7 separate regions of the Homo sapiens genome follow, and regions 2, 3, 4, 5, 6 and 7 are each linked to region 1. Evidence: promoter capture Hi-C in 16 types of primary human blood cells and fetal thymus (Javierre and others, 2016). All regions are on one chromosome and are shown on one strand. The core of a region is centred on a gene start or on the middle of the fragment in contact, and the rest is flanking DNA. Distances in the headings are between cores, read along the strand shown. Region 1 holds the start of ANAPC10 (anaphase promoting complex subunit 10). Region 2 overlaps LOC105377460 (a long non-coding RNA gene). Region 3 overlaps LOC105377460 (a long non-coding RNA gene). Region 4 has its middle 52 kb from the start of GYPA. Region 5 has its middle 11 kb from the start of ZNF827. Region 6 overlaps ZNF827 (zinc finger protein 827). Region 7 overlaps LOC105377462 (a long non-coding RNA gene).

Region 1 (3,566 bases), core at 698-3,197:
GATAAATTGTAATGCATTTAAGAAAAATGAACATGGATTCTTTGTAGAACTGTTAATTAACTGTGTGAACACTTTTAATTCAATTTCTGTATCAGTTTCAATAATTGGGGCAAGGGGATTCCCTACTTGTTTTTCAATAGAAAACCTAGGCACAGTAAAGCTTGGAGAGGAAGATTATAGTTAACAGGCTCCTGCAAACAAAGAAGGATTTGCGGATATTTCAGATTCGAAGACAAAAGTGTTCAAAATTGACACTAGAACAATGACCCTCAGTGTCATTCTTACAGCTGAGAGGAAAAAAGGAAGTGAGGAATACTTAGAAGCATTTACAGTCTAAAGCCAAAATAATTGTAACGCTGTGTAAAAGCATTTCAAAGACTGCTGTTAACTAATGATGTTTAGTATCACATGAAATAGTCTAACCCATGCTTATTGTAGTTTATTAGTCTTACAAAACACGTAGAAGTTAGGAGTGGTACACGGCTCTGATTTCAAAGAGTTTTAAGTTTAAGACATTTAGAAGAACTCTAACTTAATATTGTTTTCTCCCCCTCTCTCCCAATTGTTAGATGCTCTTCCAACAAACAAACAAACAAAAAAACTCCCTTTTTTAAAATAGGGGAGAACTAAGTTCTCAAAAAGCTCACAAACCCCAAACAGCTTTTGGTTCAAATACAGGTTCTGAGCCTTTGGTTACACTAACAAAGTATTAGTGTCAGGTGGCTGGTATACAATGAATATTCTCAGAATATGGGACAAACTACTGCAACATAAATGCCACTATCATAAATGACTAGTTAGCAGTCCTGTTGGGAAAGAGTAAAAAAATAAAACATGTTATTTGGACAGTTCTTCCTCTTATAGATTTTTACCATCAAAAAAGAGAAAATAAGCTTATGTAGTTAATGGGAGGTGGGAATTCGGCTTTGGCTGTCATTCATTCACAATACGTATTAAATGCCTACAATGTACGAAGCCCTGAAGAGATAATAAAGGTATTCTGAGTAAAGACATCAACCTTGATCTCAATGAGTATTAGATACAATAAAAGGAAAAACGGGTAAGGGGAGAAAGTGCCTAGTGCTACAAAAGCGTACCAAAAAAACTATAGGATTTCTACTGGGAAACTACTTGGGACAACCCCAGTCATAGCTGCGTACACGCTGTTCTGAGAAAAGCAGAGTGACATGTGGGCATCATTTCTATAAAGCCTGGGAGTGGACAGCGAGTATTCGACTTCATGGCGGCAAGATGCCATGACTCATTCCACTCAACAAAACGTGGAAGCCACGACTTCCCACAACCAAATATGCACATGTGACAATATATCCATTTTGGGTGCTGGAGGAGTGTGGGGGTACTAGAGAGTGCTGTAAGTTCTAAAGGTGCCTTCCTCTCCAGCAGGTTTAGCTTCAGGGCGGGAGTGGGGTAAAGGGGGAGTGGAGACTACGGCATCTAGGTCCATTCTCGAAGTCCCTCGCGGGTGTGGCAGGCAACAGCGGCGACAGCCGGGTCGGCTGGAGGGGAAGACCGAGGCGCCCCCAAGCTCTCGGCGTCGCCCGCGCTCCATCAGTTCCAGCTGTCCCGCAGGAACCGCTGCCACGCGCTGCTGCTGTCTCCGCCACCTAAGGCCTAACCAAAGGCTCTCGGAGAACGTCCCTACATTCTTTCCAACCTGGCAGATGGCAGCTAACGGCCAAACCTCTCCGGGCTATTCACGTACCTGGAGAAAACGATCCCCTTGCGGAGGGGAGCACAGAGGCCAAATCAGCTCTTGCCTTCACTTTTCAGCCACACAGCGTGTTCTCACGGCCACCGGCCAAAATGGCGGTGCCCAGCCGCCGCACGCGCAAGCCATAGGACGTAGTGCGCGCGCGCGACATAGAGCGTGAGGCGGAACCCTGGAGGTAGGTAGGGAGATATGACGTCATTGAGCTGCGACCCTTGTTCAACGCCGTTGGCGAAGCCAGCTGCTGGAGGTGCCGAGAATCTGAGTTTCGGCAAGCAGCCAGGTCTGGAAACTGTGAGTGTGTGGGCTTTTCTCCGACGTCGAGCGTGGTCCTAGCGTAAACAGATGCATTCGCCTCTCCGGTTTCAATCTTTTTTTACGTTTGCGCTTTCCTCAAGGCCGGTGGGTCAGGAGTGGAGCCTTAGTCATTCTAACGCTGGAGGTGTCAGTAGGACCAACAGAGTCTGGTGCCGACACGGCTTACTGTTGCGCGCTCTTCTAGGCCTCAACTTCCTCTCAACTGTGTGGTCAGTTCAGGGCCGGGAATCCAATCTTTTCCGAGCTCCATATTTTATCCACTTGGTGGCGTCCAGTCCCAAGTCCGGCAGTTGAATTCTGCCCTAAAGATGGGCTTTATTTCTATCTTTTTTTAGGTAACAGGACATTCAGTTAGTAATGATGGTTGCAGGTTGAATAGTCTCGCCCTAGATCTCACCTAACTTGCAGGCAAGTGACAACTAGTTCATAACTGAACCTATTCATCTGTTTATTCATTCAGTAAATTACTTATTGAGCGTTTAAGCCTCAGGCCTTGCCAAAGTTTACAGTCCGTTGTGTCTGCCGTTATTTAGTAAGTATCAAGTGCTTGTGTGCCGATTAAAGAACAACTTCGGATACAATGGGAGGTGTCAAGGAAACGGTATGCAGAACTATTGCACCTATTTTGAATAGCATATATAACAATGTTCAGTAGCAGTAACTGCGCTACCAAAGCAGTTTTACATATTGTTCACGATCCAGTATTGAAGTGTTTTTTCACATATGAATAGACTTAGTAAAATTAACAAAAGATGTGAAAGATGAGGTCAACCTTTTTAGAATGGGCCAGTTATTCACTTCAAAATCTTGAAGCCATTTTCCTGACCTTATCTTCTATGGTAAGAGCATATGTAAGTGAACTTTTAACATTTTTTTCTTATTTTTGTGCTTTTTGGGACAGTGTCTTGCTCTGTTACGCAGGCTGGAGTGCAGTAGCACGATCTCGGCTCACTGCAACCTCCGCCTCCCAGTTCAGGTGATCCTCCTGTCTCAGCCCCCCTGGGACTACAGGTGTGTGCCGCCACACCAGGCTGATTTTTTGGAATTTTTTTAGAGACAGGGTTTCACCATATTCCAGGCTGGTCTCGAACTCCTGGGCTCAAGCAATCCACCTGCCTTGGCCTCCCAAACTGCTGGGATTACAGGTGTGAGCCACCGGGCTGGGTCTTAAATAAAACTTTTGACAGCTAGAGGGCAGGTATGACTGTTCTCTGCATCACTCAATGAATATTTAAAATGAGGATCTTAGTGGGGTGATGGGATCACACCTGTAATCCCAGCTACTTGGGAGGCTGAGGTGGGAGGATCGCTTGAAGCAAGGTGTTCAAGACCAGCCTGGGTAACATAGCTAGATCCTGTCTCTAAAAAAAAAGGAATTAAGTAAATAAAATGAGGATCAATATTTATATATTCCTAGAATAAAAGTATTTCAGTCTGACTTTTCTAGGGCTAAAAGTCATTTGAATTTTCAGGCACAGAATTATAGAACTGCATAGCATTGTAGAAGTAAAAATCATCA
Region 2 (3,566 bases), core at 505-3,004, 940 kb after region 1:
AGCCAGTGACATTCTTCCAGAACTAAAAAAAAAAAAAAAAAAAAAAATTTGAAATTCATATGAAACTAAAAAAGAGCCCAAATAGTCAAGGCAATCCTAAGCAAAATGAACAAAGCTGGAGGCATCATGCTACCTGACTTCAAACTATACTACAGGGCAACAGTAATCAAAACAGCATGGTACTGGTACAAAAACAAATGTATAGACCAATGGAACAGAAAAGGGAAGATAGTACTGGTACAAAACAAATGTATAGACCAATGGAACAGAAAAGAACAGCATGGTACTGGTACAAAAACAAATGTATAGACCACTGGAACACAGAAATAAGGCTGTACACCCACAAACATCTGATCTTTGACTAAGCTGACAAAAACGAGCAATGGGAAAAGGACACCCTATTCAATAAATGGTGCTGGGATAACTGGCTAGCCGTATGCCGAAGATTAAAACTAGACCCCTTCCTTAAACCACATGTAAAAATCAACTCAAGATGCATTAAAGACTTAAATGTTAAACCCAAAACTATAAAAACCCTGGAAGAAAACCTAGGCAATACCATTCTGAACATACGAACAGGCAAAGATTTCATGCCAAAAGCAATTGCAACAAATGCAAACATTGACAAATGGGATCTAATTACACTAAAGAGCTTCTTCACAGCAAAAGACACTATCAACATAAGGAACAGAAAACCTACAGAATGGAAGAAAATTTTGCAAACTCTGCATCTGACAAAGGTCTAATATCTAGTATCTATAAGAAACTTAAACAAATTTACAAGAAAAATACACGTAACCCCATTAACAAGTGGGCAAAGAACATGACCAGACACTCTTCAAAAGGAAACATACATGTGGCCAACAAGCACATGAAAAGAAAGCTGAACATCATTGATTATTAGAGAAATGCAAATAAAAACCACAATGAAATGCCATCTCATATCAGTCAGAATGGCTATAATTAAAAAGTCGGCCAGGTGCAGTGGCTCACTCCTGTAATACCAGCGCTTTGGGAGGCTGAGGCATGCGGATCACGAGGTCAGGAGATCGAGACTATCCTGGCTAACACAGTGAAACCCCGTCTCTACTAAAAATACAAAAAATTAGCCGGGCGCAGTGGCAGGTGCCTGTAGTCCCAGCTACTCGGGAGGCTGAGGCAGGAGACTGGCGTGAACCTGGGAGGCGGAGCTTGCAGTGAGCAGAGATTGCGCCGCTGCACTCTAGACTGGGTGACAAAGTGAGACTCTGTCTCAAAAAAAAAAAAAAGATGAACAAAAAAGTCAAAAAATAACAGATGCTGGCAAGGTTGCGGAGCAAAGGGAACACTTATACACTGTTGGTGGGAATGTAAATTAGTTCAACCATTGTGGAAGGCAGTGTGGTGATTCTTCAAAGAAATATAAAAAGAACTACCATTCAACCCAGCAATCCTATTACTGGGTACATACCCAGAGGAATATAAATCATTCTACCGTGAAGATGCATGCACATGGCTGGGCACAGTGGCTCATGCCTGTAACCCCAGCACTTTGGGAGGCCGAGGCAGGTGGATCACGAGGTCAGGAGTTCAAGACCAGCATAATAACATAGTGAAACCCCGTCTCTACTAAAAATACAAAAAAAAAAAAAAAAAAAAATTAGCCAGGTGTGCCTGTAATCCCAGCTACTCAGGAGGCTGAGGCAGGAGAATTGCTTAAACCCAGGAGGTAGAGGTTGCAATGAGCCGAGATTGTGCCATTGCACTCCAGCATGGGTGACAGATACTCCATCTCAAAAAAAAGAAAAAAAAAAAAGATGCATGCAAATGTATGTTCATTGCCGCACTATTCACAATAGCAAAGACATGGAATCAACCTAATACTCATTGATGTTGGATTGGATAAAGAAAATTCCATATACACCATGGAATACTATTCAGCCATAAAAAAGAACAAGATCACATCCTTTGCAGGGACATGGATGTAGCTGGAGGCCATTATCCTTAGCAAACTAATGCAGGAACAGAAAAACAAATACCACATGTTCTGACTTAAAAGTGGGAGTTAAATCATGAGAACTCATGAACATGAAGAGGGAACAACACACGTTGGGGTCTCCTTGTGGGTGGAGGGTGGCAGGAGGAGAGGAGCAGAAAAAGATAACTATTGGGTACTGGGCTTAGTAACTGTGTGGCAAAATACTCTGTACAGCAAACCCCTGTGACGGTGTGACATAACAAACCTGTACACGTACCCCTGAACCTAAAATAAAAGTTTTTTTTAAAAAAGAAATAGATTATTTAATCAGATCCCATTTGTCTATTTTGGACTGTAAAGTAGTTCAACCATTTGTCTATTTTGGCTTTTTTTGTCATTGCTTTTGGTGTTCTAGTCATGAAGTCTTTGCCCATGCCAGTGTCCTGAATGGTATTGCCTAGGTTTTCTTCAGAGTTTTTATGGTTTTAGGTCTTATGTTTAAGTCTTTAATACATCTTGAGTTAATTTTTGTATAAGGTGTAAGGAAGGGATCCAGTTTCAGCTTTCTGCATATGGCTAGCCAGTTTTCCCAACACCATTTATTAAATAGGGAATCCTTTCCCCATTGCTTGTTTTTGTCAGGTTTGTCAAAGATCAGATGGTTGGAGATGTGTGGTATTATTTCTGAGGCCTCTGTTCTGTTCCATTGGTCTATATATCTGATTTGGTACCAGTACCATGCTGTTTTGGTTACTGTAGCCTTGTAGTATAGTTTAAAGTCAGATAGCCTGATGCCTCCAGCTTTGTTCTTTCTGCTTAGGATTGTCTGGGCAATGTGGGCTCTTTTTTGGTTCCATATGAAATTTTAAGTACCTTTTTTCCAATTCTGTGAAAAAAGTCAATGGTAGCTTGATCAGGTTAGCATTAAATCTATAAATTACTTTGGGCAGTATGGCCATTTTCATGATATTGATTCTTCCTATCCATTAGCATGGAATGTTTCTCCATTTGTTTGTGTCCTCTCTTATTTCCTTGAGCAGTGGTTTGTAGTTCTCCTTGAAGAAGTCCTTCACATCCCTTGTAAGTTGGATTCCTAGGTATTTTATTCTCTTTGTAGCAATTGTGAATGGGAGTTCACTCATGATTTGGCTCTCTGTTTGTCCGTTATTGGTGTATAGGAATGCTTGTGATTTTTGCACATTGATTTTGTATCCTGAGACTTTGCTAAAGTTGCTGATCAGCTTAAGGAGATTTTGGGATCAGATGATGGGGTTTTTCTAAATATAAAATCATGTTATCTGCAAACAGAGACAATTTGACACTCCTCTTTTCCTACTTGAATACCCTTTATTTTTTTCTCTTGCCTGATGGTCCTGGCTAGAACTTCCAATACTATGCACAGCAAAAGAAACTATCATCAGAGTGAACAGGCAACCTACAGAATGGGAGAAAATTTTTGCAATCTATCCATCTGACAAAGGACTAATATCCAGCATCTACAAAGAACTTATACAGATTTACAAGAATAGAACAAACAACCCCATCAAAAAGTGGGCAAAGGATACGAACAGACACTTCTCAAAAGAAGACATTTATGCAGCCAATAAAC
Region 3 (3,566 bases), core at 800-3,299, 920 kb after region 1:
TAGCCTGTACCATATGTCTCATTGTATAGTAACAATTTTTGTAGAGGAGGCTTACACATATCAGTCTACATCACTGTTACATCTCAAAATCCTCTTCTTTAAAGTTTATTTCCTCAACTTCTTAATTTTATACATATATATATATAATTATAGAGAAATATACAAGTAAATATTTTGGGGGCTTTCTTCCAGATGTCCATAGGAAGATAAAGAGCTGGTGCAGGAATGAGACATGTTGTCTCCAGATCCATGGAGAGTTTTTATTCTACTCCAAAATGGTTTGTAAGACCACAGTTGGTAACTCAACTGTAACAGTTCTTACATGAGTCACTGGTCAGACTGTATGTCCAAAAACAATATTAGATTTGTAATTTGACAGGGTCAGACTTACTCCAAAGAGAATTTAGCCCTTCTAGATGACTTGAAATGTAATTCAAATTTTTGCTTCTTTCTAGAATAGGGCTGAAATAGTAACGTGTACTGACTTCAGGACCCCCTGCTGTTAATCTGACATAACACAAATTTACTACTTTCTTTAATAGAGGGAAGTTCCAGTTTGCAGACTTAAGAGAAGAGAATAACTAGGGTAAGTGAGGTATCATGAAAGAGAGAAATGATACCTGGCTGGGTTGAATTTTTAAATCTCTCAAAAAAGAAGTTTTTTCTCTTAATATCCTTTACGACACATTTTATAATGATACATATATGATTCTATTTTTGTTCCAAATAATAAATTTGTACACACCCATGCACGTTTATGTGTGTGCATGTGTATATGTACTTCATTATTAAGTGAAGTTCACTTCATGATAAGAAATAGCTCCATAAATCTAAAACATGATAAGGGTGAAACAAAATTAATGAATGTTTGAGATGTGGGTCTGGATCATTTTATAAATACATATGTGAATCCTAGTTTCTAGTAGATTTTGAAATCCATAGTCTATAAAATTCCATAAGAGATCCAGCTTTCAGATATAAAATGTCATATATTGTAATTCCTATATAAATATTTCCTTTAAGTTAATGGCTATTTCATGGTAATAGTACATCATTAACTACAATCTGTAGTTTTGCATTTAACTAAACTTTTCACACAAATCATACAACAGATTCCCAACATGTTTTCAAATGTGTCTCCTAAGATACAGTGGAAAATGTGACTTATATTTAAAACTTAATAAATAACTCATTGATGTGAAGTGTTTTAAGTATGGCAATGTGCTGTTTTAAACAAAGTAGTGAAAATATATCACTGACTGTGTCTAGTTGTTTTCACTTCTTTCAAGGTTTAGATTTCCTTTGCCTGCCTGTCTGATTTAACTGGAAAAAAAAAAAAAACCCTTATGGAAAGTGGGAACCTTGCATACTTCAAAGTTAACCAAGATCAAAGTCAAATGAAGTCCACTGAATAAAGAACAAGCCTAAATGCAAAATGTGTCACGTTGATATTGGCTTGAGTCTTTTAGGTTATGGCTTGTACCAAAGCCTTAACTTTGGATTTGTCAGGTATCTAAGCACTGTGAGGTCTTATGGGAAAAAAAATGGTTTACTTAGTTTCTGCAGGAGACCATTTAAACACAAACTTATCTACATAACCAGGGAAATAATGTAGCTATTGGTAAATGAAACCTTGAAAATGTGAAAGGCTTCTTGCCTGTTGCATCTTTGTTAGCTGCATTTAACTCCTGACAAATATTCATCTTCTACAGGCTACATCTTGTCTAATTACAGAATTAGAAAGTTTTAATATGAATTATGCCTCCCTAAAATGTGAGCATGCTAAAAAAACTGAAATTAGCTATTATATCTTTCTATCTCTGCTAGAAGCATCTCTTAAATTGAGACAGTTTCATTGAGTCTTTTCAGGATTCCAATCTTGTTTGTTTTTGAATCTCCACAAATTTAGGGTCTGGGGATTTAGGCTAATGTTGAGTTCAATAAAAAAAAATGGAGAATTATTAACATGCAAAAGGTAGTGTGGTCTGTTATTTAAAAGATGCAATGGGTGTTCTTGAATGTTCTGCTTCATTGGAGCCCTCCTACACCAGACATGTTACCAGTAAAGGCACAATGTTTTTTCCTTGAAATGGTCCATGCTGTTTCACTTGAAACGGTGTGTGCTGCTGCTGGGTGTTCTGTGGTTCTGTCTCAACAACATTACTCAGAACTCACATTCAGCAGGTATCAACCAATAGGCCCTTTGGTATCAGAGAAGGAAATAAATCACATTCTCTAGAAACACCCATCTGTTTTGAATAGTCCCATAGATAGATGGCTGTCTGTTTCCTGGAATATTTAATATTAGAAAAAACTAGTCCAAACAGTTTACTCTCCTTAAGACTAAGCAGCAAAAGGTCTTCCAGTAAATGCACTGCATAATGGGAGAGGCCAGAGACATCCGCCTGTGACTCAAAAACGGAAAGAAAAAAATACTGATAATTTCTGTGACTTTGGTGACCTCTAGCGATCAAATCTTAGAACAAATCTACCAAGTTTCTTTTCTAAAATAGAGGGCTCTACAGAGTTAGATATTACATATTCGTTTTCTAATTTTTCTACTCATTATTTATTTATTGGTTATTATTTTTAATTGCCACATAATAAGTGTACATATTTGTGGAGTGCAATGTGATATTTTCATACATGTGTACAATGTGTAATGATCAAATCAGGGTAATGAGCAAGACAGTCACCTCAAACATTTATCATTTCTTTGTGTTGAGAATACTCAAAATCCTCTCTTCTAGCTATTTGAAAATATACAATAAATTGTTGTTAACTCTGGTCCACACTACAGTGCTATAGACCATTAGAACACATTCCTCCTATCTAGCTATAATTTTGTATCCCTTAACCAATCTCCCCTAGCCCCTCTTCCCCCTACTCTTCCCAGACTTTGTAACCACGGTTCTACTCTCTACTTACATGATATCAACTTTTTTAGCTTCCACATATGATTGAGCTCATGTGGTATTTGTCTTTCCGTGCCTGGCTTATTTCATTTAACGTAACGTCCTTCAGGCTCATCCGTGTTGCCACGAAGGACCAAATTTCATTCTTTTAATGGTTGAACAGTATTCCACTCTTTATACACCACATTCTCTTCATTTATTCATTTGTTGATGGACACTTATTTAGGTTGATTCCATATGTTGGCTATTGCGAATAGTGCTGGAATAAACAGAAGAGTGCAGGTATTGGCCGGGCCTGGTGGCTCACTCCTGTAATCCCGGCACTTTGGAAGGCCGAGGCTGGCTGATGACCTGCGGTTAGGAGTTCAAGACCAGCCTGGCCAATGTGGTGAAACCCCGTCTCTACTATAAATACAAAAAATAGCCAGGCATGGTCATGGGCACCTGTAATCCCAGTGACTTGGGAGGCTGAGGCAGGAGAATATCTCGAACCCGGGAGGCGGAGATTGCAGTGAGCCAAGATCACCTCGCTGCACTCCAGCCTGGGCGACAAGAGCAAGACTCCATCTCAAAACAAAAAAAGAGTGTAGGTATCTCTTTGACATACTGATTTTTGAATATACACTCAGCAGTTAGTGAATCATATGGTGT
Region 4 (3,566 bases), core at 703-3,202, 910 kb after region 1:
CATTCAGGACATGGGCAAGGACTTCATGTCTAAAACACCAAAAGCAATGGCAACAAAAGCCAAAATTGACAAATGGGATCTAATTAAACTAAAGAGCTTCTGCACAGCAAAAGAAACTATCATCAGAGTGAACAGGCAACCTACAGAATGGGAGAAAATTTTTGCAATCTACACATCTGACAAAGGCTAATATCCAGAATCTACAAAGAACTCAAACAAATTTACAAGAAAAAAAAACAACCCCATCAAAAAGTGGGCAAAGGATATGAACAGACACTTCTCAAAAGAAGACATTTATGCAGCCAACAGACACATGAAAAAATGCTCATCATCACTGGTGATCAGAGAAATGCAAATCAAAACCACAATGAGATATGATCTCACACCAGTTAGAATGGCGATCATTAAAAAGTCAGGAAACAACAGGTGCTGAAGAGGATGTGGAGAAATAGGAACACTTTTACACTGTTGGTGGGACTGTAAACTAGTTCAACCATTGTGGAAGTCAGTGTGGCGATTCTTCAAGGATCTAGAACTAGAAGCACCATTTGACCCAGCCATCCCATTACTGGGTATATACCCAAAGGATTATAAATCATGCTGCTATAAAGACACATGCACACATATGTTTATTGCGGCACTATTCACAATAGCAAAGACTTGGAATCAACCCAAATGTCCATCAATGATAGACTGGATTAAGAAAATGTGGCACATATACACCATGGAATACTATGCGGCCATAAAAAAGGATGAGTTCATGTCCTTTGCAGGGACATGGATGAAGCTGGAAACCATCATTCTCAGCAAACTATCCCAAGGACAAAAAACCAAACACCGCATGTTCTCACTCATAGGTGGGAATTGAACAATGAGAACACTTGGACACAGGAAGGGAAACATCACACACTGGGGCCTGTCATGGGGTTGGGGGAGCGGGAAGGGATAGCATCAGGAGATATACCTGATGTAAATGATGAGTTAATGGGCGCAGCACAGCAACATGGCACATGTATACATATGTAACAAACCTGCACGTTGTGCACATGAACTTAAAGTACAATAAAAAAATGCTTATGAATAGAAGCTTGCCTTTCTTCTTGAAAAAGTCTTGGCTAGCATCCTGGAGACACATGGCTCTGCCAATTCTTCATCCGGGACCAGCCAGCTTCCATATGACTTGCCAACTGACCATAAACCCATGAGTGAGCCTGGCCAGTGCCTAGAGGAGAAAAGATGACCCATTTCTGTGGAGCCCTGTCTAAATTGCTAACACACAGATTAGTTTTAGTCTTATGTCACTATGTTTAAGGTTATTCATCATAGAGCTAGACTGATACAGTTGACTAAATGCTTTAACAAGCATTTAGAGCATCTTAGTGGCTTAACACAATGACATTTATGTCTTGTTAAGTCACAGTCCAATGTAAGTTCATGGTGGTTGGAAGAATCATTCAGGAACCCAGGCTCATTTCTTCTTGAGATTCCTCTCTCTTCTAAGTCCTTGGAGTCTTTTATCTTTTCTTTTCTTTTTCTTTTTTTTTTTTTTTTTTTTTTGAGATGGGGTCTCGATCTGTCACCCAGGCTGGAGTGCAGTGGCTCAACAACCTTGGCTCACTGCAACCTCTGCCTCCCAGGTTTAAGCGATTCTTCTGCTTCAGCCTCCCGAGTAGCTGGGACTACAGGCGTGTGCCACCACGCCAGTCTAATTTTTGTATTTTAAATAGAGACGGGGGTTCACCATATTGGACAGGCTGGTCTCAAACTCCAGACCTCGTGATTCACCCACCTCAGCCTCCCAAAGTGCTGGGATTACAGGCGTGAGCCACTGCGCCCATCTGGTCCCTGAAGACTTATTCATTTCTGCAGCAGATGGGAAACAGAAAGAGAATCATACACAGGATATATTTGTAGGGTGGTTCTGAAGGAGGCATGTAACATAGCCACCTTCATTCTGCTAGCCAGAACATGATAAAGGAGACTGGAAAATGCCATCCATCTGTGTGCCCTGAAAAAGGAGAACATATTAGTAAGGACTAACAGTCACTGCCAAAGGCAGAAATGTTTGATTGCACTGTGTATGTTCTCCAGTGCCTAGCAAAATGCCTGGTTTATAATAAATTCTTAGCAGATGCTTATGGAATGAGTGGGTGAAATAGTGATGTTGTAGTGTCTATTTAAGATTAGGTGTAAGAATTAAGCATGAAGGACATTTATCTCATCCAAGCTCATCTCTTAAAATCTTTGAAGCATGAACTTTATGGTAGAGTGCTCACCAATTTAAAAACCAAGGCAACAAATGGATGTTGATGTTTTGTTTTATCTGAATTCCTAATACTGAGATGATGACATAATAGTTTTTTCTTACCCTGAAATTTGTAAGAATTTAAAAATTCAAATTTAAAAGAACAAATTGAAAGTATATTTAACATTGTCTTCAATTCCTCAAATCTTCATATATGTATGTGTATACATATATATACACATTATATTTTAAATATATATAACATTAGTGCACTATCCAAGTTGCCAATAACTTCAGCACTATCACATGAAATATGAGTAACATAGTTAGAAATTCATACAGTATTATCATACAATATAATTTATACTGTAATGTATGATTTATAAGTACACTGTTGAAAAGCCAAAAAGTTCTTATTCTGTTATTAATCATTTAAATTTCAGAGCACTTTCATTCTCCTATCAGGTATAAAATTCCAGAATTCTTCAATTCTCTATTATAACATATACATTAGAAGTATCTTTCATTTTTCTCTACTTACTCATCAGTCAAATAAATTTACATCAAGCTTCCTTAATCAAACTTCCAAGAATAGTCCCTTCTTTATTTTATTTTACCTGTGAAATGGGAACGTATGTAAACAGACTGTAAGGTATAGTCTCTGAACACCAAGCATCTAGGCAGAGAAGATGCAGTGGGGTCCAGGTAGCCTTTAACCCACTGAGCCACAGGGTTGGACATGAGGGGACAACCGGAAGCCTCCCTTTATGCACTAATATCATCTTCATTGTTTGCCAATTATAGTTCATTAATATGTTTTCAGGTAAACAGTGTTTAATTTCTCCAAGCATTCTAATGTGTAATGCACACAAAAGGATTGAGTTAATTATTATCACCCTGACCTGAAAGAGTATCTTAGATTATCAAGCCTACTAGCAGGAGCTTTAGAGAAAGGGATAGCTTATAGGAATATTTTGGTGAGAAAGAGAAGAGGTGAGATGTGTCACAGGAGTGTGCATTGCAAGTCATGGCCATGAAGGGTCACCAGAGAGCAGGAGGAAGACCCTGGACACCCGAAGGGTGGCACCAGGACCCCTATGATCCTGGCTATGCCATCCTCCAGAGAAAATAAAACACTAAGAATCACAGGGGCAAGTACAAAGACCCTAGAGATCACAAGCTAATTGGGCAAGTGGAAGGCAGAATATGGGGACAGTGCTGTTGGTTGAGAACAAGGCATATGTGGAATAGAGACAAGAAGTAAAGCAAAGAGTAGGACACAGTATGAGTGGGGTTGGTTAGACTTATTCATTGACATACT
Region 5 (3,566 bases), core at 492-2,991, 850 kb before region 1:
AGCTTCAGAGGAGAACAGCAAGGATGCAGGAAAGGAGAATGGAGGAGTGCGAGGGCTGCTCTCTGCCAGTATTTGGAGGATAGTCATGTAAAAGAGCAAACCTATGCTCTGTGGCTTCAGAGGGCAAAATAAAGCACAGAGAGTAGAGAGTGAAAATGCTAGATTGCCTTATTTCATTTTTTTAACTATGGTAAAATAAACATAATAATTTTCTATTTAAAACATTTTAGGTGTACAGCTCAATGGCATTAAGTACATTCACACTGAGGTACACCAACTATCTCCAGAACTTTTTCATCTCCCCGAATGGAAGCTCCATACCCATTAAACAATAACTCTCAATTTACCCCCTTTCCCAGCCCCTGGCAACCACCATTCTACTTTCCATCTTTATGAATTTGACTACTCTAAGTATCTCATATGAGTAGAATCATACGGTATTTGTCCTTTCATGTCTGGCTTCTTTCACTTAGCATAATGTCTTCAAAGCTAACCCATGTCATAGCATGGGACAAGATTTCCCTCCTTTTAAGGCTGAATAATATTGCAGTTATGTATACACCACATTCTGTTTGCTCATGTATCTGTCAGTCAGTGGGCATTTGGTTTGTTTCCACCTTTTAGATACTGTGAATAATGCTGCTATGAACATAGATAAACAAATATGTTTGAATCCCTACTTTCAACTCTTTTGGATATATACTCTGAAGTAGAATTGCTGGATTACATGGCCATTCTATATGTAATTTTTTAAGAAGCCACGGTGGCTGTACCATTTTATATTCACAGCAGCAATGCACAAGGATTCCGACTTTTCCACATCTTCAGCAACACTTGTTATTTCATGCTCTTAATTTTTCAGATAGTGGCCATCTAACGGGTATAAAGGGAAATGCTAGATTTTGACTGACTCTTAAGAAACAATGATCTCACAATACGATCTGTCCAATTAGAGTCTGCCTCATTACTAAGTATGATCATATCAGAAGTTAGTCTAGATAAATGCAAGTCTAGTTCCAAAATTGAGAGTCTGTGAATATGTGACACAGTGGTATTTGAGGACCTTATTATTTTGTCTATTTTCTGGTCTGATGCATATAAGATAACGCATGAATTGCAATGGTTGGTTGGGAGTTACATGTGTATAACACATGATCATCACAAACTGATGATCAACAGATCTGACCTGCAGATACATTTTGTTGAGTATATATGTCCCAAAACTTGGAGATTTCTCGATAAAATTTAGATATCCCGCTTCTCCTATAAGATGGGAAAACACAGCAACAATGGGCTTACAATCCCTGGAATGAGAAACAGGAGGTTCCCTCCTCACTGTCCTGCTCAACAGTGTGTGACCTGCTGCCCCAGCCCGGCTGTGCATTTAAACAAGCTACCCAATTATAAACAAGTGGTAGATGTCGGTGACTTATGTACCTTAGGAGCTTTCCATAAGATACAAGCCCTTTGACCAAAGCATCTGAAACAGGAGAATATTACCACATTAATCATTTTTCCAATATTCATATATTTAATTACTTTGTTTTGTTAATTTTTAAACAAAAGTAACCAGTAAAGTCTAAGTCGTTACCCTTAGAGCCTTTTACAAAAATGGTCATCACTTGCCATTATGATATTTGTTCCATAAGAGCAAGGGCCGTGGATATTTTCTCACACAGTATACTCAAAGCCTAGGTTGTATGATAACATTAGCCATTACTCTGAGTACAGAAATATTATTGTTTGTTGTTTTTAATAAGTTTTGAGTATATTTTGTGGTGGACTGAAAGCAGTCATCCAAATCAGTAACAGGATGACACAGGTACTTAAAATAGTGTGTGATTAAAACCATTCATTCAAAGCACATCAAGACAACAAGACCTGTTTTGTGACTTTAGTTCTTTCAAGGGTAAGACTTGAACCCAAGATTGGGTTAAACATTATCAAAATTTGTGTATGTGGGCTTGTTTTGTTTCGTTTGGTATAAAAATCATTTTCTGAATTCAGAGAAAGTGCTAGTTTATAAAGTAAATTTAGTTTTTGATACTATTATTCCAGCTTTCTTTTTTCTTCTTTCTCTTTCCTTCTTTCTTTCAATTTTTAGTTTTCCTTGCCTATCTGGTTTTTTTGGACAGTGATAAAGAAGTGTTGAAAGGGAAGAAGTAGTCCTCATTCAGAACTATAGTTTTCCATAGGACTATAATGTAGAGTTGAAAGTAATCCAGTGTGGGTTATGATTTATGTCAGATGAATGCCAGATAATTCTGGGTCATTTATTTTGTTTCAGGAACAACAATAGGGGAAGGAGAAGGAGAAGGAGAACAGGTGGGTTTAAAAAATCAAATCACGAAAACCTCAATAAATGTTTTATAACTGAAATTTATAACTGAATGAATGCCACAATGCCTAAAATTCCTGCTGTGAAAGTTACTGCTGTGGGATAAAGCATGGGGAATCCAGAAAGCAGAGGTAATATATTCAGATTTTTCCTCTAGCAGCCAAAGCAAATGAAAATGTTTCCCCTGGGAATCTGGGGATAGAGCCTGAAGAAGGTTCTGGGCAAAATTTCTTTGAAACCTTGCATTTTGACTTAAAGTTCATGCAGAGTTTGGACCTCATGGCATATCCCATGCCGTCAGGAGCAGCAGCATATACCAGCTACAGTGCTTAGATTCAGTTAGACCCCACAGCAACCTCATGTAAGGGAAGTACAATATTGTCATTGTCCTCATCTTTAATGAGAAAAACCAGAGTACATGGTATCTCCATACATATCTTAATAAAAGTACATTTTAAATTATTTCAAAGTTAAATTGCTTAACTTTCAACAAACGTATCAGCAAAAGGAGCATTCCAGAAAGATGGCCATATTTATTCTATGACATCTTTTACTTTCTGGGTATTTCAAAGGTATCCCTGTTGGTAAAAGAGGATATGCTATTTGTATCACTGAAGACATTGGCATTGAGTAGCTAACTTACTTTTGTTGCGGTTCAAAAAAGTTTTAAATTATAGTAATAATATATGTTTCACTGTTAAAAACTTGGAAAATAGAAAAAAATGAACTCTCGTTATCCTGTTAGCTATCATTTTGGTAGAAAAAAAGCATGAGGAAGCCTCGGGAAATGGAAAGGAAAAAAAAAGAACAGTTATATTTTGAATAAAGAAAGATTATGGGACCATCTATCAGGAGAGGTTTAAGTGGGACAACACAGTGGTATTTCTGGTTGCTAAAAGGACCGGTACTGCTGAGAGAGCAAATGGCATCAAACATTCCAGAAGTGGAGACAGGAGAAAGGATCGAGGAAACATCAAGGAAGGGGTCTTGGAGATCAGTGTTGCCCACTCATCAGTTTTGCTTACGTCACCTTAAATTTGTTCAGAGCATGGACCTGAGATGGTCCTAGATCCTGTGGCACCAAGGCTTTCCTTTGGGAGACTGACTCTACCTGATCATTACTCCTTCTCTGCACCCCTTCCCTGCCCTGCCCCCTGCCATAATCATCTACTAATGATGTACTTCGAATTTGTCTGAAGCCTAAATTACCTCTCACATAGCCTCATTC
Region 6 (3,566 bases), core at 609-3,108, 830 kb before region 1:
TGAAGAAGCTGGCCTTCAAAGGAGACTGAAGAAGGCCAGGAAAAAATGATCTTTTACATGATTGATCAGTAGCACTCTGCTTATCTGAGCTTTTGAAACAAGCTACTGTGCTTGTGGAGGGTGATAGATGTTTCTAAGGTTACATAGTGCTAGTATCTTAGGTGGTCTGGTGCTGTATTTTAAAAAGCTTTTGTTGTTGTTTTGTAATGAGAGGGAGAAAGTATCATCTGTGACTGTGCCCTCTTTAACTTTGTCTACTGTGTATGGCACAACTAAAGTAGAAACAGGATTCATGTGCTTTCAAAGTTCGTAGGGCAGCAGTCAAACGTACAAACTCTGGGGCCAGGCTGTTCAGAGCCCAGCTTTGCCACTGACTAGCTGTGTGACCTTGGGCAAATTGCTTATCTTCCCTGTCCTCCACTTTACTCATCTTTAAATAGTGGTAATAGTTTCTGTATCACAGAGCTATTAGAAGGAATAATTGAATACATATACAAATGTAAATATTATACATATACACAAAATCATGCCTAATTAGTGCCTGCTGCATAGAAAGGACTTAATAAATATTACTTATTATTAAGTATGTGAAAGGTGTTTCAGTTTGTTTAGATTGTGAATAGATTACAGGTATTTCTGACCTGGAACTTTTTGGTGGTTTCTATGGTTTTTTTTTCTCAATATATCTCATTAGTGTGGTGAGTAATAATAATATGATATGGTAAAATTCTTTTACAAGGCTATTATTGTAGGGCTTGACTAATACTTGTTTCATAGGCCAACAATATTATATTAGGCTTTTACTACAGGAATGAGTTTCTCTGTTTATATGATTTGACCTGAATTATATCTAAGTTGTGTAATAATCATATGCATTATAACCAGATTTTACTATAAAGTGAGGATACTAAATCCTCCTTTAGACACTTAGAGTGAGACTCAAATTAGAGAATAGGTATTCCATAAATATTTATTTATTCTTCTGTTCAACAGGCAGCCCACTGGTTAGAGTAACACAGACGAAATTTATATTAGGTGTTCCATATGTTACATAGGTAATAGTTTATTTACACAGAAAGAAGGAAAGGCAGGGTCTGCTGTTTCTAATCACAGAGAACCAAATCAAGAGAATACATGCAATGAATCTTAAATGAAGGATGGGGTTGTGTATATGTGAGCACAGTGGGAAAGAGAGATCATATCGTAGGTTACAAGCTGGTGCCATAGTAATGTGTTTTGCCCCACACAGATACTGTTTAAAAACTTGAGACAACATTTTGGAAATCGGAGGTTTCATATAAAAATCCAAATTTCCAGCTTCCTTTGAAAACTTGGAAGAGTCACTCGCACTGGGCCCACCTCCCCACATGGCAGCAATCTGCTGTAGTCGGTGGCGGCTGTCTCCATTCCCCAGGCATGTGCTCGTCAGTCTGCCACAGTTCCTGCCACTCGGCCACCATGTCCCCATATGCATATACACCTGCCCACCTCCCTCAGGTATCTTACCTCCTGATCCCTGTAGGCGTTTGGATTAGAAACTGTTCTGCATTCCCCAGCATTCTTTGATCTTTCCATTCATCACTGACTCTCAGGTGTTGTATAGCACATTTGATGGCAGTATCAAGAAGCCGTATAGTAATCCCTATCCTAGCAGCACCACATTGCAGCCGTGACACAAGCGAGTTACTGCAGTTATCTGCCTGTTTTTCTCATTTGTGAAGTGGGAGACCATTGTAGGTTCTCTGAGACTAAGTCAGCCTATACACGTAGATATTTTAGATTTGTGTCTGGCATAGGGTATGTGCACAGTAAATGCTGGCCATATTAACACACTTGAGGTGTGAATTCATGTCAACTGAGGATTGCTTGAACTGTATTATGTAATTAGTCAAGGAAAACTATTGCTGTCCGTCAGTTTCTGATCACCATCAGCCAACCCAGTGGTTCTCAACCAGATGTATTAGAATCACCTGGGAGATTTTTAAAAAATACAAACACCCCCAGAGATTTAAGTTGAATTGACCCAGAGTGGAGCTTGAGCATGAACGTTTTTTAAAAGCTCCCTGGGTGATGTGATTCATTTGCTTAATCCCGAGTTGAGGACCCCTGAACTAACCAGAACTCCCACTCTGGGATGTTATCATTTCAGTCAAAAATAAAGACAGGAGATGGTGAGCCTGGTCAGCTTATTGATGGTATTTTTTCAGGCTCTTAAAACCCTAAAATTAGCTCGTGGACCTGGGTAATGGACTGCAACTCCTCGAGGTTGGAAACCAGAGAGACTGATGGAAGGAATCTACAGTAGGCAGGAGACACAGACTGCAGTCTTCTCCCTTAAACTCTCCCATCACCAAGGTTTTTCACTGGCTTTGTGACCTTGGGCAAGTCACTTAACCATCTCTGTGCTTAAGTAGCTCCATCATGTAAAACGGAAAACAGTACATTACTCAAACCTTCTGTTTGTATTATGCTTTATTCTTCATGAAGCACTTTATCATCTGCCTGTGAGGTGGGCAGGGAAGGGCTGCTTCTCCCACTGATTGGACAGAAGTGGACACAGACCCAGAGAAAGGAAGAAATTAGCTTGTAGTCACCAGTGTCAGCACTACCAAGGGCTGGACCATTTGATGGTCTCTTGAGACACAGTGCAGCTGTAGGTCTGTGAAATCTACATGGGATCTCACAGCCTGAAGGAGATGGTTTTGGCCACTATAAATTGCTTAGAGCCTCTCCACTACAGGAGAACCCCTTAGGTGTTGATGGAACGTGATGGCCCCATGATTCATGAAAACCTCTGCTGCCAATAGTATTTCCCTCCTCAAAGACTTAAGATCTGAGTTCATCTCAGTCTTATCAAATCAAATGTATCTTCCTTCTAACTTCTACCCTATTGGTCCTACTCTCTGTTTTCTGATCAGCACTTCATAAGTTTATGAAAATACTTTTCAAGCTGAATTTTAATTATTTGTTTCCATCTCTTTCTCTGCTCACTTGTCTCTGAGCTCCTTGAGAGCAGGGACTAAGCAGAGAATAGTAGAACGGAGTCACATGCAGTGACACTGTCTGAGGCCTGAATTATGTGCTCCATATGGAGAGCACTGCCTTTGCGTAATGGCCTAGAATTAGGCGGCGTTTTCTAATCTGCACTTGTTTGGCCGTACTTGTTAACCCAACAGTCCTCTCTAGAGCATGAAACACAGCTGTATTTGGGAGGAAACAAAGTGTGGGAGACCCTACGCTCCAGGAAACGTTACTGAAATGTGCTATATGATTTCTCCCTTCTAGAGGAAGGCAAACTTCAAATAATAACTTACTGGGTTTTAATCTGACCTTAAGAAAGTGAGAAATCAAATTACAGTGAGCTGCTTTGTGACATTTATAGAAAGAGAGAAATTTCACAATCCAGAAGTAGGGTTTGGGTTGGCTACTAGATCGTAGTTAGAAGTGCTGTGCACAAATGGCTACTCACATACTTGTTGATAGGTGAAAAAATATGTGCAGAAGAAGAGAAAAAGTATGAGAAGCTTAAACATGACTTGGGCGTACTCCATAAGGCTGAAACCATA
Region 7 (3,566 bases), core at 795-3,294, 760 kb after region 1:
GAAAAAGTAAAGAGGAGAGATGCTAGAGTCTCCTACTGGTGAGTAATGGCAGCTATTTGTTAATGCATAAGGGAGGGTTTAATTCCATAATGGAGATTGTTAGTGGAAGAGATTAGATTTTCCCTTCTGGGTATGAAATAAATATTAGAGATTTTGGAATCAGAAAATGACATGATAATTTTCCCAATGTTTAAGGTTGATAATGGAAGGAAGATGTGGGAAGCAAAAAGTATAGGTAAAAGACCACTGATACAATAAAGTAGATTTGTTGAGGCTTATATTGGTACTTTGGCTATAGGGAGAGACGGAAAGAGTCAAGTGAAGAAAACACTCAGGGAGGGCTCCAGCGTTTTGAACCACCTAAGACACTGGGAAAATGTGTCACCACTGGTGAAAATGTGGTTCAAATGTAAGGTGTTAGAGGATGTGGTAGTAGGGAAAATGGTCAGATAGGTGTCATTTTTTTAGAATTCAAATTTATAATAGATCTTGTTTAAAAAAGCAGAGGCTTCTTTTATTATTTTTTTGGCAGAGGTATTCAAATGTCTGAAAAGAAGACTAAATTTTAAATTAGGAGATAAATCTGACACTGTGTGTGGCATTGAACAAGTCACTTCACTTCTTGTGACCTGAGTTTCCTGATACATCAAATGTGGGAATTGGATGAGTCACTTCTGGGTCTCCTCCAGTTCTGACATTCTATGGATCCATGAAATAGGCTTGGCACCTGTTTTCAATTTAAGCTCTAACATGAATTTCCTTATTCTTTAAACCTGCCTTTCTAGTAAGCTGCCACATTTATTACCAGGCTTGTAGTCATTTCCTTTTACTCTAAAGAGAATATACATTCAGTTTTTTAGCTCTAGGTTTTCTGCATCACACTGTCATCGTGTTGAAACCACTTTGTGGGAACAGCGGCTAAAGTCATCTTTCAGTTTTAGACGTGGTCATGGTTGTGAAGTGACGCTGGTCAGGCTGCCATTGGAACATTCACCCTGAGACCATGGTTTCCCTGCTTTGACGAGAATTCAAAGTGATGTTTTATACCATTGGAAGCTGTTTTAACTTATCTGGAACAATAAGGCATGCCTCGTGACAGCGCTTTATCCTGGAGTTCATTATTTCCACCTTGGACTTCCTCAACTCTAACTTCCACCATTGTATTAGAGGTCTCATTGCAGGACTCAAATAATCTGTTTCTCATTACTCACTTGTTTCTTTTTTACTTCTTTTCTTTATGTTCAGTTACCACAGCATTAACTGTCATTATCAGTCATCCAATTTAGCCCATGCTTTCAGCCAAGCACCTAAGAAAAATGAGGATAGGCTTAGAGGAAAAATAACATCAGGCCTAAACACATTCTGGCAGAATTGGGTGGGGAAGGGGAGAATTCTGACTCTCTCTTTACATTGCAAAGAGATGCTTTTGGGGGGGTCAGACAAAAGTACAATATGACCCCTGAGGCACCCACAACTCCTAAATAGGAAATAGGCAGGGATCTTTGGCAACCTGTTGTAGATGGAACTTGCATCATCATAGTCACTAGGGAAGATTTCTCTTTGTGGATTCTGAATGCACCTGACTCTGGTGGATTAAAAGATCAAAGAGAATTCATGGTAAGGCTGTCCTGCCTATAAGGTATCTTACATATGTACCCTTTCCCAGGCCCCCTAAACTATCTGATCTATCAACACATCATGCTACGGAAAAACATAAAAGCATCTAAAGAGAACTGTTCTCATCTTAGGCATTTACCCAGACCACCCGCCCTCTCATCCCCTCAACCCATTACTCCCTGCTCTTTGATGCTTCTTATTGCATTCCAGATCCCCATGTCTGCCCCAGGGCTTCCTCGGTGCTTTGGTGACCCTTTGATATTCCAGGTCTGTTTTAGTGAATAGGCCACTTCTAAGGGTTAATATTCAAAATATTTAGCAGTACCTATTGTCAGCGGCACTGACCAACTTGGACGCTGTCTATAAACAGCCAAACAGCAACTCAAGGGGTTCCTTTTCTTCTACTGGGTCCTGGTTCAGGCTTCTCATCAGTTCTTGGAAAGAAGCTGTTCCCTTCTTGAGTCTCACAGGACAGCCACTAAGTGCCCTCATCTCCTCTGTCGACTCCCCATCTTCATCCTCCAACAGATAAGATGGGTGTTACAACACGAACATTATAGTATTATCAAGTTGCCCTATTCGTAACTTTACTTATGTGGCACATAGAGGTTCTTCCTCTTATTCCTGGCGGGGAAGCATACCAGATGCTTTTGATGTCCCATGCGTGTGCCTTTGGGCCTCACAGTTCCATGGGAACTGGCTTGACTTCTGCTGCTGGCAGTGATCTCTTTCACTGAAGACTTTGGAGGATGGAGTCTGTTATGCCCTGTGCGCATGGCAGAAAGGCAGGGCCAGAAAATAAATGTCCCTCTCAGTACTTGTCGGATAAAAATCCAGACTCTTTAGCCTCTCGGGGCGACAGCTCTGAGGCTTGTAATCTTCACTGGCTCCCAGGGACCCCCGGTGGGCTTGAGCATGAGGGTTTGAAAACTCTCTTCATAGCCTGCCTTCGCTTCATGTCTTGCTTCCCCATTCTCCTAGCAGTGTTTACTGGGGTCACCTTCCAAATAAATTACATGCACCTGGATCACTGGGTTAGGGTCCACTTCTAGGAAAGCCCAAATTGAGATAAAAAAGAATTTTTTCATTCATTCATTCAAATATTGGGCATGTACTAAATATTACATATTATTTGATGATACAGGAGTGAATAAATCAAACACCCCTACCTTCTCAGAGCTTATAACAAATATAATAATTTATATATAAAATGTCAGAGGATTATGTGTTATAGGAGAAACTGAGGCAAAATAAAGGGATTGGGAAGTGTGGAGGTAGAGGTGTGGGTTGCCAATATTAACAAAATAGAGTAGGTGTCACTGAGAAAGGGACATTTGACCAAATACTTGAAGGGGGTGAGACACCCATTTGGATATTGTAGACAAATCACTGTGGCCTGAAGAAAGAGCAAGAGCAAAGACCCTGAGGTGAGGACATGTCTGTCATGTTTGAAGAACAGCACCAAGGCTGATTTTAATAAGTGGTGAATGAGTGGGAGAAGAGTAAAGATGAGATATGAGAGGTAACAAGGGCCAGATGACAAAGGGCTGGAAGTCCCCTTGTAAAGACTGAGTAAAATGCGGAGACATGAGTGTTTGGAGCACAGCAGCAAGGTAATCTGACTTACATGTATTTTAAAGGCATTATTCAGACTGCTGTTGGAAAGAACCATGGGCAGCGATGTTACACACAATCATGGAGGTTGCATTCCATATGGTGACATTCAATCTGGACTCTGCCTGCCCCACCATGTACCCTGGCATGGGATTGTGTCTGTCTGGAGGAAGAGGCACCTTTTCCTGATTCTTAAAAAGCTGCCAAACCTAGCAGTAGCTGACTAGGTGGACAAGGCAAAATAATAGAGAAGAGTGGATAAAAACAGGTAGAAGACTATTGAAATCATTCAGAATGGAGATAATGAAGACTAGGACCAGGTGGTAGTAGAAGAG

What was found. The method cuts DNA at HindIII sites, captures the fragments that hold promoters and counts their contacts. A CHiCAGO score of 5 or more calls a contact.
Region 2: a contact is called between a fragment that was not itself captured here and the fragment with the promoter of ANAPC10 in region 1, in 1 of 17 cell types (megakaryocytes). The highest score is 5.9, in megakaryocytes.
Region 3: a contact is called between a fragment that was not itself captured here and the fragment with the promoter of ANAPC10 in region 1, in 14 of 17 cell types (megakaryocytes, erythroblasts, naive CD8 T cells and 11 more). The highest score is 16.2, in megakaryocytes.
Region 4: a contact is called between a fragment that was not itself captured here and the fragment with the promoter of ANAPC10 in region 1, in 4 of 17 cell types (naive B cells, M2 macrophages, fetal thymus and 1 more). The highest score is 7.2, in naive B cells.
Region 5: a contact is called between a fragment that was not itself captured here and the fragment with the promoter of ANAPC10 in region 1, in 1 of 17 cell types (activated CD4 T cells). The highest score is 7.5, in activated CD4 T cells.
Region 6: a contact is called between a fragment that was not itself captured here and the fragment with the promoter of ANAPC10 in region 1, in 5 of 17 cell types (total CD8 T cells, activated CD4 T cells, naive CD4 T cells and 2 more). The highest score is 9.7, in total CD8 T cells.
Region 7: a fragment that was not itself captured here is called in contact with the fragment with the promoter of ANAPC10 in region 1 in 2 of 17 cell types (M1 macrophages and M0 macrophages); the score reaches 6.8 in M1 macrophages.

What each region holds. Positions count from the first base shown.
Region 1 is chr4:145,096,577-145,100,142 of GRCh38, reverse strand. ANAPC10 (anaphase promoting complex subunit 10) reads left to right here and starts at 1,947. Exons shown (of 5, transcript NM_001256706.2): 1 at 1,947-2,023. ABCE1 (ATP binding cassette subfamily E member 1) reads right to left here and starts at 1,832. Exons shown (of 18, transcript NM_002940.3): 1 at 1,724-1,832. RefSeq lists enhancers at 1,521-1,600, 949-1,820, 1,851-2,110, 2,191-2,240, 1,374-2,573 and 1 more. The HindIII fragment of the contact is 4,584 bases long and covers 896-3,566 here.
Region 2 is chr4:144,156,777-144,160,342 of GRCh38, reverse strand. All of the region lies in intron 9 of LOC105377460 (a long non-coding RNA gene), which reads right to left. Among named protein-coding and RNA genes, the nearest start is that of GYPA, 18 kb to the right of the region's middle. The HindIII fragment of the contact is 5,750 bases long and covers 1-3,566 here.
Region 3 is chr4:144,173,460-144,177,025 of GRCh38, reverse strand. All of the region lies in intron 9 of LOC105377460 (a long non-coding RNA gene), which reads right to left. Among named protein-coding and RNA genes, the nearest start is that of GYPA, 35 kb to the right of the region's middle. The HindIII fragment of the contact is 6,811 bases long and covers 1-3,566 here.
Region 4 is chr4:144,190,876-144,194,441 of GRCh38, reverse strand. No RefSeq gene overlaps it. Among named protein-coding and RNA genes, the nearest start is that of GYPA, 52 kb to the right of the region's middle. The HindIII fragment of the contact is 1,726 bases long and covers 1,090-2,815 here.
Region 5 is chr4:145,947,633-145,951,198 of GRCh38, reverse strand. No RefSeq gene overlaps it. Among named protein-coding and RNA genes, the nearest start is that of ZNF827, 11 kb to the right of the region's middle. The HindIII fragment of the contact is 6,241 bases long and covers 1-3,566 here.
Region 6 is chr4:145,926,763-145,930,328 of GRCh38, reverse strand. All of the region lies in intron 1 of ZNF827 (zinc finger protein 827), which reads left to right. Among named protein-coding and RNA genes, the nearest start is that of ZNF827, 10 kb to the left of the region's middle. The HindIII fragment of the contact is 3,337 bases long and covers 190-3,526 here.
Region 7 is chr4:144,340,729-144,344,294 of GRCh38, reverse strand. All of the region lies in intron 2 of LOC105377462 (a long non-coding RNA gene), which reads left to right. Among named protein-coding and RNA genes, the nearest start is that of GYPA, 200 kb to the right of the region's middle. The HindIII fragment of the contact is 7,813 bases long and covers 1-3,566 here.